Regions from separate parts of the Homo sapiens genome. Here region 1 is linked to region 2. The links are contacts of gene promoters, found by promoter capture Hi-C in blood cells and fetal thymus (Javierre and others, 2016). All regions are on one chromosome and are shown on one strand. Each heading gives the region's core, a stretch centred on a gene start or on the middle of the fragment in contact. The rest is flanking DNA. Distances are from core to core; before and after follow the strand shown. Region 1 overlaps HDAC2 (histone deacetylase 2). Region 2 holds the start of NT5DC1 (5'-nucleotidase domain containing 1).

Region 1 (5,418 bases), core at 246-2,745, 2.1 Mb after region 2:
TATAAGTTGATTTGAAATTATGCCATCGTGGAGGGGTGGAGATGGAAATACATTTTAATTTCAACATGATTTACATTGCATATTTTGGGTTATTCTTGCCCTGCATTCCCTGATCAAATTGGAAAGGAAGTAACCCTGCGTATAAGTTAATTTGTAAAATTACATTGTTTCTAAAGTTTAGAGATTTATCCTTGTCAGGGCTTGGAGTAAAGAGGAAAATTTTGGTTAGGGAAAGTGGTACTGAGGTCCTTCTCGAAGCTGTCAGTTGGTGTTGGTAGTGATGGGCTCTGAGGAAGTAAGCTGCTTGTAATTTGTTGTCACCACAATGGAACCCTAGAACCAGGAGGGTACACTTGAGTAGCAGTTTCTGAACAGCGCTCTTGTCCTGGGCCCATTTATGATAACCTTCGTTGTGGGAATGGGAGCAGGCACGGGTACCCGGGAAAGGATGCAAGCTTGATAAGTAGGGTGGAAATATTTGTCTTGTGATTGTGACTTAATATGATACTTTATTGTAGCCCATTCACCTGCTTACGTGATGGCCAGCAACAAGTGAATAGCTGATAGTTTGGAAATCTCTGGTGGGTTATTTTGTCTTTTGTCTGTGACTCGTTTGTTAAAGTGGAGTTCCTAGTTGCTTATGTTTCACATACTCTTTTAATTTTTGTGGGAGGGAATTAAAATATTTTGCAGAGATTATTAATGTTTATATTATGCTAATTATTAATATGTGATAGTGTGCTGACCTCATCCAAAAACTTATATTTTTATTACCAGAGAACATTGTTTTGTCAGCTTACAAAAGTAGCAATACTAATTCTTTTTTTATTGTGAGAAGAGAATGCAAGGAAAGGAGCTTCTGTATCAAAGAATCGTGACTTTAAGGTATATAACATGGATTGGATTGGGAATGGGTTATATCTGTAGTAATAGGGTCTGAATTATCTGCTAGCCTAGGTTAGATGGTTTTAACTTCTTGGTAAAGGAAGTAGAAGGAAGAAAGTGAGTGAAAAAGAAAAGGACGGAAGTAGCAAATTCTATAACCATAGGAATCCTACCTTTAGGCTTCCTGGGGCTGTTAGGCACACGGAGCCTCTTGGCCACACAGAATGTCTGCCACTGAGGCTGTTTGCATCTTAATGAAAGAACTTTTAAATATATACATATTGTTCTCTGCACGTTATGTAATCTTCAGGTAACCCTTTAGGTCACTGAAACGTTGGTCCCAAGGGAACCTTCAGACATTGATGGATTAGGTATCCTTAAACCTTTGAAGAAAAGTAAGAGAAGTTATTACTTCTCTGACTGTAGCTATTGATCCATGCCTCCAAATTCCCAAAAACATACTTCTGAATCATGTTCCTTCTTTATACACTAGAAGATCATCAAGAATCTGTAAAATGATACAGCTAATTAGATAGTCACTAAGATCCCTTCTGGGCCTTAAAACGATGTGATTTTTCTCTACTTAAATATAATTAGCAGCTAAGCTGTGTTAGGCTCTAGTTATACCACTCACATTTTTAATACTGTATCTAGACATGTTTATGCTTTGTTTTGAATTAATCTTGAGGCCAAACATATTTAGTGCTTGTTTTTATGGTGTATACAGTATAATAGGGTTTATATACCTAATTTATGTAACTATACACAAATTTCTCTGTGCTCTATTTTTTCCTCCTCTGAGAGGGATGCATAATCAGTTTTGGAGACAAGTGGTCCAGAAAAAAACACTCAAAGACTGTATACAGATAAAACTATATAAATACAAAAGTTATCAAGATTAGGCCAGGTGTGGTGGCTCATGCCTATAATCTCAGCACTTTGGGAGACTGAGGCAGGCAAATCACCTGAGGTCGGGAGTTTGAGAAGAGCCTGGCCAACATGGCGAAACCCCGTCTCTACTAAAAATACAAAAATTAGCCAGGCGTGGTGGCAGGCACCAGTAGTCCCAGTTACTCGGGAGGCTGAGGCAGGAGAATGGCTTGAACCCAGGAGGTGCAGGTTGCAGTGAGCCAAGATAGTGCCATGGGCAACAAGAGCGAAACTCCGTCTCAAAAAAAAAAGTTACCAAGATGATACCTCCCAACGTACTCCTTCTTCAGCAAATTATAGAAATTCTACTTGGCAGCCAACGATTGTCAGATTTTCTTAGACTTGTATTTATGAGTAGTACCAAAGTCTTTTGCTGAATAACCTTTAATACAACTACATGGGTTCTTAGCTGTGGTATAAATCTTTATTATCCGTGAAATAGGTAATAATTTCTTTGGAGGCAAATAAGTGCTAAATTAATTATAGCAGCAGTTCATAAATACCAGTAATACTAATTGCACAATAAAACATGACTAAATAAGACTGAAATTTTCCTATACTTCTCTTTCCCCAGAAATCTTTTGCCTCTCTTTTCTTTCAAATTTTACCTCATCAGAGATGCTTTCTCCTATTACCTAAGTCCCTGTTATTGCCTTATTTTTCTTCCTTTTGGTTGTACCATATAACTTTTGTCTCTCTCCTCACTATAACATAAGCTTCATTAGGACAGTCTGTCTGTTTTGCTTGTGTTTGTATCTTCGCCAACTACATTTAAAAACGTAGCTTTTTTTTTTAATTAGTGATGAATAAATTATTAATTCCTTATACTTTTTTTTTTTTTTTGAGATGGAATTTTGCTCTTATTGCCCAGGCTGGAGTGCAGTGGCGTGATCCCAGCTCACTGCAACCTCCACTACCCTCCCGGGTTCAAGTGATTCTCTTGCCTCAGCCTCCCAAGTAGTTGAGATTACAGGCACGTGCCACCACCCCTGGCTAATTTTTGTATTTTTTAGTAGAGATGGGGGTTTTACCATGTTGGCCAGGCTGGTCTCGAACTCCTGACCTGGGGTGATCCACCCACCTCAGCCTCCCTAAGTGCTGGGATTACAGGCGTGAGCCACTGTGCCTGGCCAATTCCTTATTCTTATAGATAGAACGCTTTCATATAACGTTCCCTCTAATTCTTGAAACTACTCTGAACTACATTTAGGTAGGATGGGTGGCATTTTGGCATTTTTGGTATTGTTTAGATGAAAACAGATTCACATTTGTTTGGTGCAGTCTACCACTTTTCCTTTTCCACACTGACTGTAGTTTTAATGTTCAAGGAGAGTTCAACATCCGGAATCTTTATTTTTCTTTTTTCCTTTTCAAAGTGTTTCCTCTGCTACCAAACAAACAAAACTCCTTAACAAAAACTTTAAATGCTTCTGTTGACAAGTCCTTAAAGGAAAACACTTGGGATTGGAGAAGGCATCTCTTAGGGAATGTTAATAAATTCAAACTTGGAAGAATTCAAATCAAGTCTAAGGATTTTTTTGTACTGGTTATTAAGCCTTATTCCTCTGTATTTCAGTAGCAGTCTGCTTATTGTTACTTGTTCATTAAGCCAGCTTTGGGTTCAGACATATCAAATAGGCTTAAAGTTCCTACTGTGTGCCAAATAGACAAAAGATTGCTCAAGTCCTAAGAAGGAAATAAAAGACTGCAGGTATAAAGTAAGAGAGGGGGCCGGGTGCAGTGGCTCACGCCTATAATCCCAGCACTTTGGGAAGCCGAGGCGGGCAGATCACAAGGTCAGGAGTTTGAGACCAGCCTGGCCAACATGGCGAAACCCTCTCTCTACTAAAAATACAAAAAAAAGTTAGCTGGGCATGGTGACGGGTGCCTGTAATCCCAGCTACTTGGGAGGCTGAGGCAGGAGAATCGCTTGAACCCGGGAGGCAGAGAGGTTGCAGTGAGCCGAGATCATGCCATTGCACTCCAGCCTGGGTGGGTGGCAAGAGCAAGACTCTGTCTCAAAAAAAAAAACAAAAAAAGTAAAAGAGAGGGGACCTTTGATAGTGTAATCAGAAAAGGGAAGACCTGAAGGAAGAGAATGGGCCAGCCTTAAAAAGAGTTTACTACATAAGATATTACAAATAGCAAAGCCAGATAGTTATTAATAGAACTTGGTGCACTTAATGGGAAGGAAGACAAGGAAAATGTGGAGTCCCATGTTAGGCAGTAAAAAGTGGGACTGCACAAAACTGTGTAGTAAGAAATTTGACTTTACCCAGAGGTGGAAAGCCATTGAAAGTTTCTCAAATAGAATGCATTCTCTCAAAATAATTGGTAAGGAGTTGTGGAATATAGGCTGGAAGCAAGAATTGAACACATATTGGTCCATATAAAATGTAATGGTTGCATTTTAGATAGAAATAGACATATTTAAGAGAGATTTGGGCCTCAAACCAATAGAACTTTTTGATGGATTAGAAATGGAGTTGGAGCTGAGGAATGGTGTTAGAGAATGAAGGATGACTCCTAAGTTTCTGGATTGAGCAGTTAGGTGGTATGTGGTACTACTCACTAAGATTGGGAATACAAATAAAGAGCTCTGTTTTGAACATCTTATATTTGAGATCCTTATTGAATTCAAGTGAAAAGACTGAGAAGAGAGTTAACCTCTGTGAGTTTATAATCCAGAGAGGAGAGTCTAGACATAGAAATTTGGGATTTCTCAGCTTATATCAGGTGAAGTATTGAGACTGAAAAAGATACAGCATAGACAGACGACTGGTCCCAGGACTTAACTCCCGAGAGAAGAGAATTTAGGGCAGAACTATTGTTCACTGATGAACCCAAACCCTTAGAACAGTACCTGCTTGGCACATGGTAGGCTCTTGATTTATTAAATGAATGGCTGAACTGAAAACCCTTGATGTTTAAAGGTTGGTGGAGGAGTGGCCTTGGGGTACAAGTAAAATCCCAAGAAAATGGTATTATGGAAGCCAAGGCTCCGAATGTCTCAAGGAGGAATAACCTCCTTGAAATATGTATTAAAGATGTGTTAATATGTATAAAAAATGGATAGTGGGCTAAGTAGTCTGGAAGATGAAAATAATAAACTTTTTTCTTTTCTCTTGTTTTTTTTTTCCTGAGTCTCTTTTTGCAGTCAACTTATCTTTGTGGCTAAAGGTACATTTCACAGTTCTGAAATCCAAAATGACCTGAAAATTGAAAAAAATTTTGGTAACTCATTTGGAATCAAAATCTTAACCTGAATCAATGTGAGGCTATTTATGATCTTTATTCCTCTGTGAATACCGTGAATATTCACACTTTTTTGCTGTAGAAATATTAATGTTTGATTATATCATGCCACCCAAACTCTAGGCTATTACATAATATATGGCAGGTGTACCATATTATCTCTACAAAATCTGAAAAAGTGTAAAATTTGAAACATATCTAATTTGAAGGAATATGGATAAGAGATTGTGGACCTTAGTAGACACTTCCATTCTGTTAGTTTCTTGAAGAGTGAGCAATTTGTAAAATTTTGCAGATAAATAATTCTTTACAGTAATTTCTTTGCATTGACAATTAAAGTTTGTTGTG
Region 2 (5,075 bases), core at 1,534-4,033:
CTTCTCCACCATCTTCTCCTGCAACTTGCCACCTTTTGCTTGCACCCAGCAGTTCCCGGTGCTGTTGCTCACCTCGAGGTTCTGACCTTTACTCTAACTCCTCTGGGTGAAGCACTCCTCTCCACCTCCTCACCTGCCAGCTCCCGGCCTTTCCTCTGTGTTTTCGGGCACCATACAGACAGCAAGGTGGGAAGAAGCAGAAATCCACAGCCGGACTACCTCGCTTAGTTGCCCTGGATACACTTTCCTTCTGTGCCCCGTTGCTTGATGCTCTCTTAACAGTGACTAAATCACTGTTAAGTGATTAAACAGTGGTGATAATATCTACCTCACAGGGACGTTGTAAGGATTAAATCCATTCATATAAGCAGCATGCTTATTAGAATCATGGCTGTATCATATTCTGTTATTAAAATACCTATTATCTATTCAGTCTATTTATTGAGTCCAGTATGTGCCCAGCACTAAGCTCGGCACACAGAACACACAAGAAACTGTCACAGATACTGATGGAGTCATCACGCTGGGCTCTAGGGGAAGTCCAACAAGTAAACAGGAAGTGTTAATATCATGCAGCATGTGCTATGAGGAATGAAGGGTTTTGTGGAAAACTGAAGGTGGGCTTAGAATGGAAGGGCAAACTTTAAGGGCCAAAAAGACTTCCTAAGGGGAACGATGTTTAAGATGAGGCCTGATGGGATGAAGAGCTTCTGTGCAGAGCAAAGAGGCCCTCCAGGCACTGTTGGCAGCGTGAAGCAAGACCCAGGTCATACTACCCACCACAAGGGACCAAGACTAACTCTTCAGCATTTTTGCCTACTGTGTAAGGCTGCCTGGAGGCCTGCGTGTTGATCTCTGTATCCTCAGCTCTAGCATGGTGCTCAGCACACTGTGGGACTTAAAATAAAAAAGATTTCCACACCAAACATGATCCAAAACTCAATAGGTTACTGTTTTCAAGCTTTAAACATCACTTATTCTCCAGGTTTGCAGTAAAAAAACCTCTTGTCTTTGAGAATCTTATATTCTGAAATTTTATGATCACCTATGGACAACACTAGCTCTAACATGACAGTGGTTTAACAATATTACCTCCAAATGAAGGTAACTAAAGAGGAGACACACAAAACTGTGAACCAGGAAGGATTCGAAAGACACAGAGGGAAGGAAAACATGTATCAAAGACCTAGGGGAAGCAGTGGCCAAAGAATCAAGCAGTAAAAAAGCCTTCTTAATTCTCAATGTGACTAAGGAAACCAGACCTGTAAGGTAAGAAAGCAGGAAAGTGTAACAGCAGAAAAAGGACATTTAAAAAAAAATTTAGCATCTGGGCATAGAAAACACACGAGAAATTCGGGCAGCCACTCTTTTTTGACCTTTAACGTGTACCTGAACTGGTGGGTGCAGGAACTGGCGGGTGCCCATAATGGGGCACAACCCTGGCTGATGTCTGCACCAGTGATCTAGAGTTCTACCCATAAACTGTGAGGTTTCCAAATAGTTTGGGTGGTAACCATAAAAGCAAACACTTGTCTTTGCCAAGGTACTATTCTAAGCATTATACATCTCTTACTCATTTAATCCTTGCAACAATCTTGTGAGGTAAATCCAATTATTAGCTCCATTTTACAGATGGGGAAACTGAGAAGCAGCACAGGTTAAGTAACTTCCTCGAAGTCACAGAGCTAGTAACAGTGGAGCTGGTGTCCTAAGCTAGGCAGTCTGGCTGAGGAGTCCTCGCTTTCACCACTGTACTCATAACCAGCTCTTTTTCTGTCTGGATGCTTAGATCTTGGACTAAAAAAATCTGGTAACTTTTCAAAATTAGTTTCCTTGGGAATTGGGAAACCAAAGGAATAGTGGAGGGAGGGCAATTAATTTGAGTGTACAGGTCTGGAAGCATGCATACTCCATGTCCCCCTCCCTCAGGGCACAGTGAGGACCCAAACTTCGCAGACTGTTGGTAGGACTGGAATGTATTCAAAGTGCACGGAGCACGTAGTCGATGCGCAATAAATATGTATTTTCTTCTCTTGATAGAAGGTAAAACTAGGGCTAAGATCTTAATGACTTTTCAACTAGTGTTCCTTTCAATACACTACACTATATACTACGCATCTCTCCCAGATTGCAGTTTAAACACTGATGGGTGGTTGATCGTGCAAACAGAAAAATGCAGCCAAAAAAAATGCAAGTACCAAATCAAGTGGCTGTGTCCACAATCAGCTGGTGTCCAGAAAGACATGCAGAGAAAGTTCCACGACGTGAGATCTTCAAGGACAGCCCTAGTCCCCCTGACCCCGCCCCTCCTCGGCCCTAGAAATCACCGATTCCCCAGCCCGGTCTTGCGCAGTTTGCCCCTCCTTCGTTCTTCCCTATCCCTCTCAACATTAGCTAATGGCTGAGGTAAATGTGCCGGTCCCCACGGCACCGGCGCGGAGCGGAGGCTGCACACTTCCGCCCCTTCTCGCCGCTGGAGGCCGCGCTCTGCGGCAAGACTCGGCCGCCGCAGGCCCCGGGCAGCGTCCGCCGTTGCCCAAACCTGGAGGAAACTCAAGCCCCAGCCGCCATGGAGGTTGCGCGCAGTGCGCCCCGGAGCCCGCGCCACTCACCGGGGCGCTCTCGGGCAGGTTGTAGCGACACAGAGTGTGGTCCAGGTCGAATCCGACCACGTCGCAGGCGGCCAGGGAGAAGTGCTGAGCCATGGCTGCGCGGGGAGCACCAGGGAGCGCCTCGGCCGCGAAGGGTGCAAGGAGCTGGCTGGCGGGACGCTGCGGGACAGGACCGGGCCGGACGCGGCGGGGCGGGGCTGCGGCTGCCAGGGCACACGGCGCGGCAGCCTCTCCCGCCTCCCGCGCCCTCGAGCACCGCCCCTCGATACGCTTAGCCCCCGCCCCTCGCGCGGCGGGCGTCCTGCGCCGCCCGGAGTCAGGTAGTCAGCTCGCGTCCTCCTGGTACCCCAATGCCGGCGACTCCTGATCTGTTCCGCAAGCCTAGGAGCCCAGAAGGCAGTAGGGGTCCAGGAGCGGTGCCGCTGCTGCACAGCTGAGACCTGTAGGCACGTAGCCTTTCCCGAGGGCTACCACAAAATTAACCGGGACACTCCATCGCCTCAGGGCGCCTCGGAAACCAGGAGATCATGAGGTTAGACCTGACCTTTTACCCCTGTGTGAGGAATAGTAAGATCATAGAAAAAATTCATCCGCTAATATCCCTCTGACCCAGTTAGCCTACAATTTGGAAGGTCTTTTCACCCACGTGATCTTTGATAGTGGTTTAAACCAAAAACTTTATATTCCTTGGTTTCCTAAGTGGTTAAGTGGAAGACAGACCTTTCACTATTTCATACCCTGGAGTGCGTTAGAAAATAAATGTATCAGACATCGTGAAGAACCATTTTGCAAGATGATACTTGTTATGGAAACCAATATTGGTTATTACTTGATAATCCTATTTTGTTATTGTAATGAATTTTTTATGAAAGGGCATCAGAAACTTCATAGAAATATATAGAGCATACTACAAAAAACTTTTGCAAACCGGGTTTAAGGTTTATAGAGCACAAAATGTTTTGAGTGACATTTGCTTAATTCTCTCAAGAACTGTATAACTACTACCATTTTAGATGCAGAGAAAGTTAATCCATTACATACAATGTATGCCTTAGGGCATTTAATTCTCTTCCTGATTTCCGGATGTGAAGGACTAGCACTTTGAGATCTTTATTACATAGTACCTCATTTTAAAAAGAAAATACAAATCTATTATGTTTACACTGCTTCAGTTCTCAATTTAAAGGAACAATGTGTCTAATGGGACAAATCAATAGTCGTGACATAATGAAAATATAATTGATTGAGAACTGCATTTAACCCTTTCAAATACTAATCCTTCTGAGGCTAATAGACCAATCAGAGGATTAATTTAGTGCAATAGATAGTACAATTGAGTAGGAGGACACTTATACCTAGTAGACCCATTTGAATAAAATTGATAACTTGTTCCATTATAACACTTAAAAGCCCCAAACAAATCTCTCTGGAATAGGAAAAGTAAAGAATCTTCAAGAAGATTAAGCTGTTCACTGATGAGTCCAACAATCATGTTTTCAATGTCTGTGAACCAAAAGAGAAAAGGCTGGATTGTTGGAGAGGCTGGAAAAAGCTTGTTGGCCCTGGAGCATTGACCTTGGCATTCTCCTCTGCACCTTGCAATAGAATGCTACCAAAGTCAAACTTCCAGGTGCATGCCACATTGAAGGGCACATGTTTCCTTGGGGAATATCTTGTTTCATGTGGGAGTAGGTGCTTTAGGTACTTTAGGGACTTCCCTTAGTAATACAAATGTACTAGTACATTCATTGTAAGAGGGAAGAGTATAAAAGGATTGTTTTTTGTTGACTTAGCAAAAACTTCTCCTTACAAAACCTCTTGAGTGTGCTGAATTGTGAACAGGAAATTGACTTGGGGTAAGGGGAGAGAGGGAACCAGGGCACTCTTAAAGAGAAAAAGACCCCTGGGTCGATAACCAAGTGGTCCTGGGACTGGATCTGGCTATTACATGCACATCAACAATCTTATGTACTTGCTGATTAACAAATTATATATATTCTGCATGTTTGCACAAACAGTTCTTGTGCTAGAGAGTCCACATCATTTAAACTTTGTGGGAGAATTTTGCAAATGATCCAATCCTAGAGGCTTGTACTCTTTCTTGAGCCCCACTCACCTTTCCTTTGTACCTCAAACCTCAGTCTGACTCTTCCAGAAATATAGGGGATGGTTCCCTTCTCTTCTCCCATTCCCTACATAACCCTGAGTTTAAATACAAACACTCAGTTTAATTGTTTCATAAGGCTTATTTTTGGATAAAGATATTTCATTTTCCCTGCACATTAAACTTTTATCACACTTACTGATAAAATGCCACAGCTCTTGTATTATCAACTACAAGTTCAGTCTTCTACTTAGATACCAATTAATTTCTGTTTCTTTGAGTATCATGGACTGAATTTTGTCCCCCACTCATTCATGTGTTGAAGACCTAACCCACAATGTGTTTATATTTGACATAGG

Evidence for each region. Contacts are between HindIII fragments. The CHiCAGO score rates a contact against its expected background, and 5 or more counts as called.
Region 1: a fragment that was not itself captured here is called in contact with the fragment with the promoter of NT5DC1 in region 2 in 4 of 17 cell types (total CD4 T cells, total CD8 T cells, non-activated CD4 T cells and 1 more); the score reaches 9.3 in total CD4 T cells.

Annotation. Positions count from the first base shown.
Region 1 is chr6:113,963,797-113,969,214 of GRCh38, reverse strand. All of the region lies in intron 1 of HDAC2 (histone deacetylase 2), which reads left to right. Among named protein-coding and RNA genes, the nearest start is that of HDAC2-AS2, 3.2 kb to the left of the region's middle. The HindIII fragment of the contact is 2,076 bases long and covers 458-2,533 here.
Region 2 is chr6:116,098,561-116,103,635 of GRCh38, reverse strand. It overlaps NT5DC1 (5'-nucleotidase domain containing 1), which reads right to left and starts at 2,783. Exons shown (of 12, transcript NM_152729.3): 1 at 2,613-2,783. The coding sequence starts at 2,705. It also overlaps a transcript of FRK not described here. RefSeq lists enhancers at 541-610, 2,080-2,600, 2,601-3,123 and a silencer at 2,708-2,967. The HindIII fragment of the contact is 3,203 bases long and covers 964-4,166 here.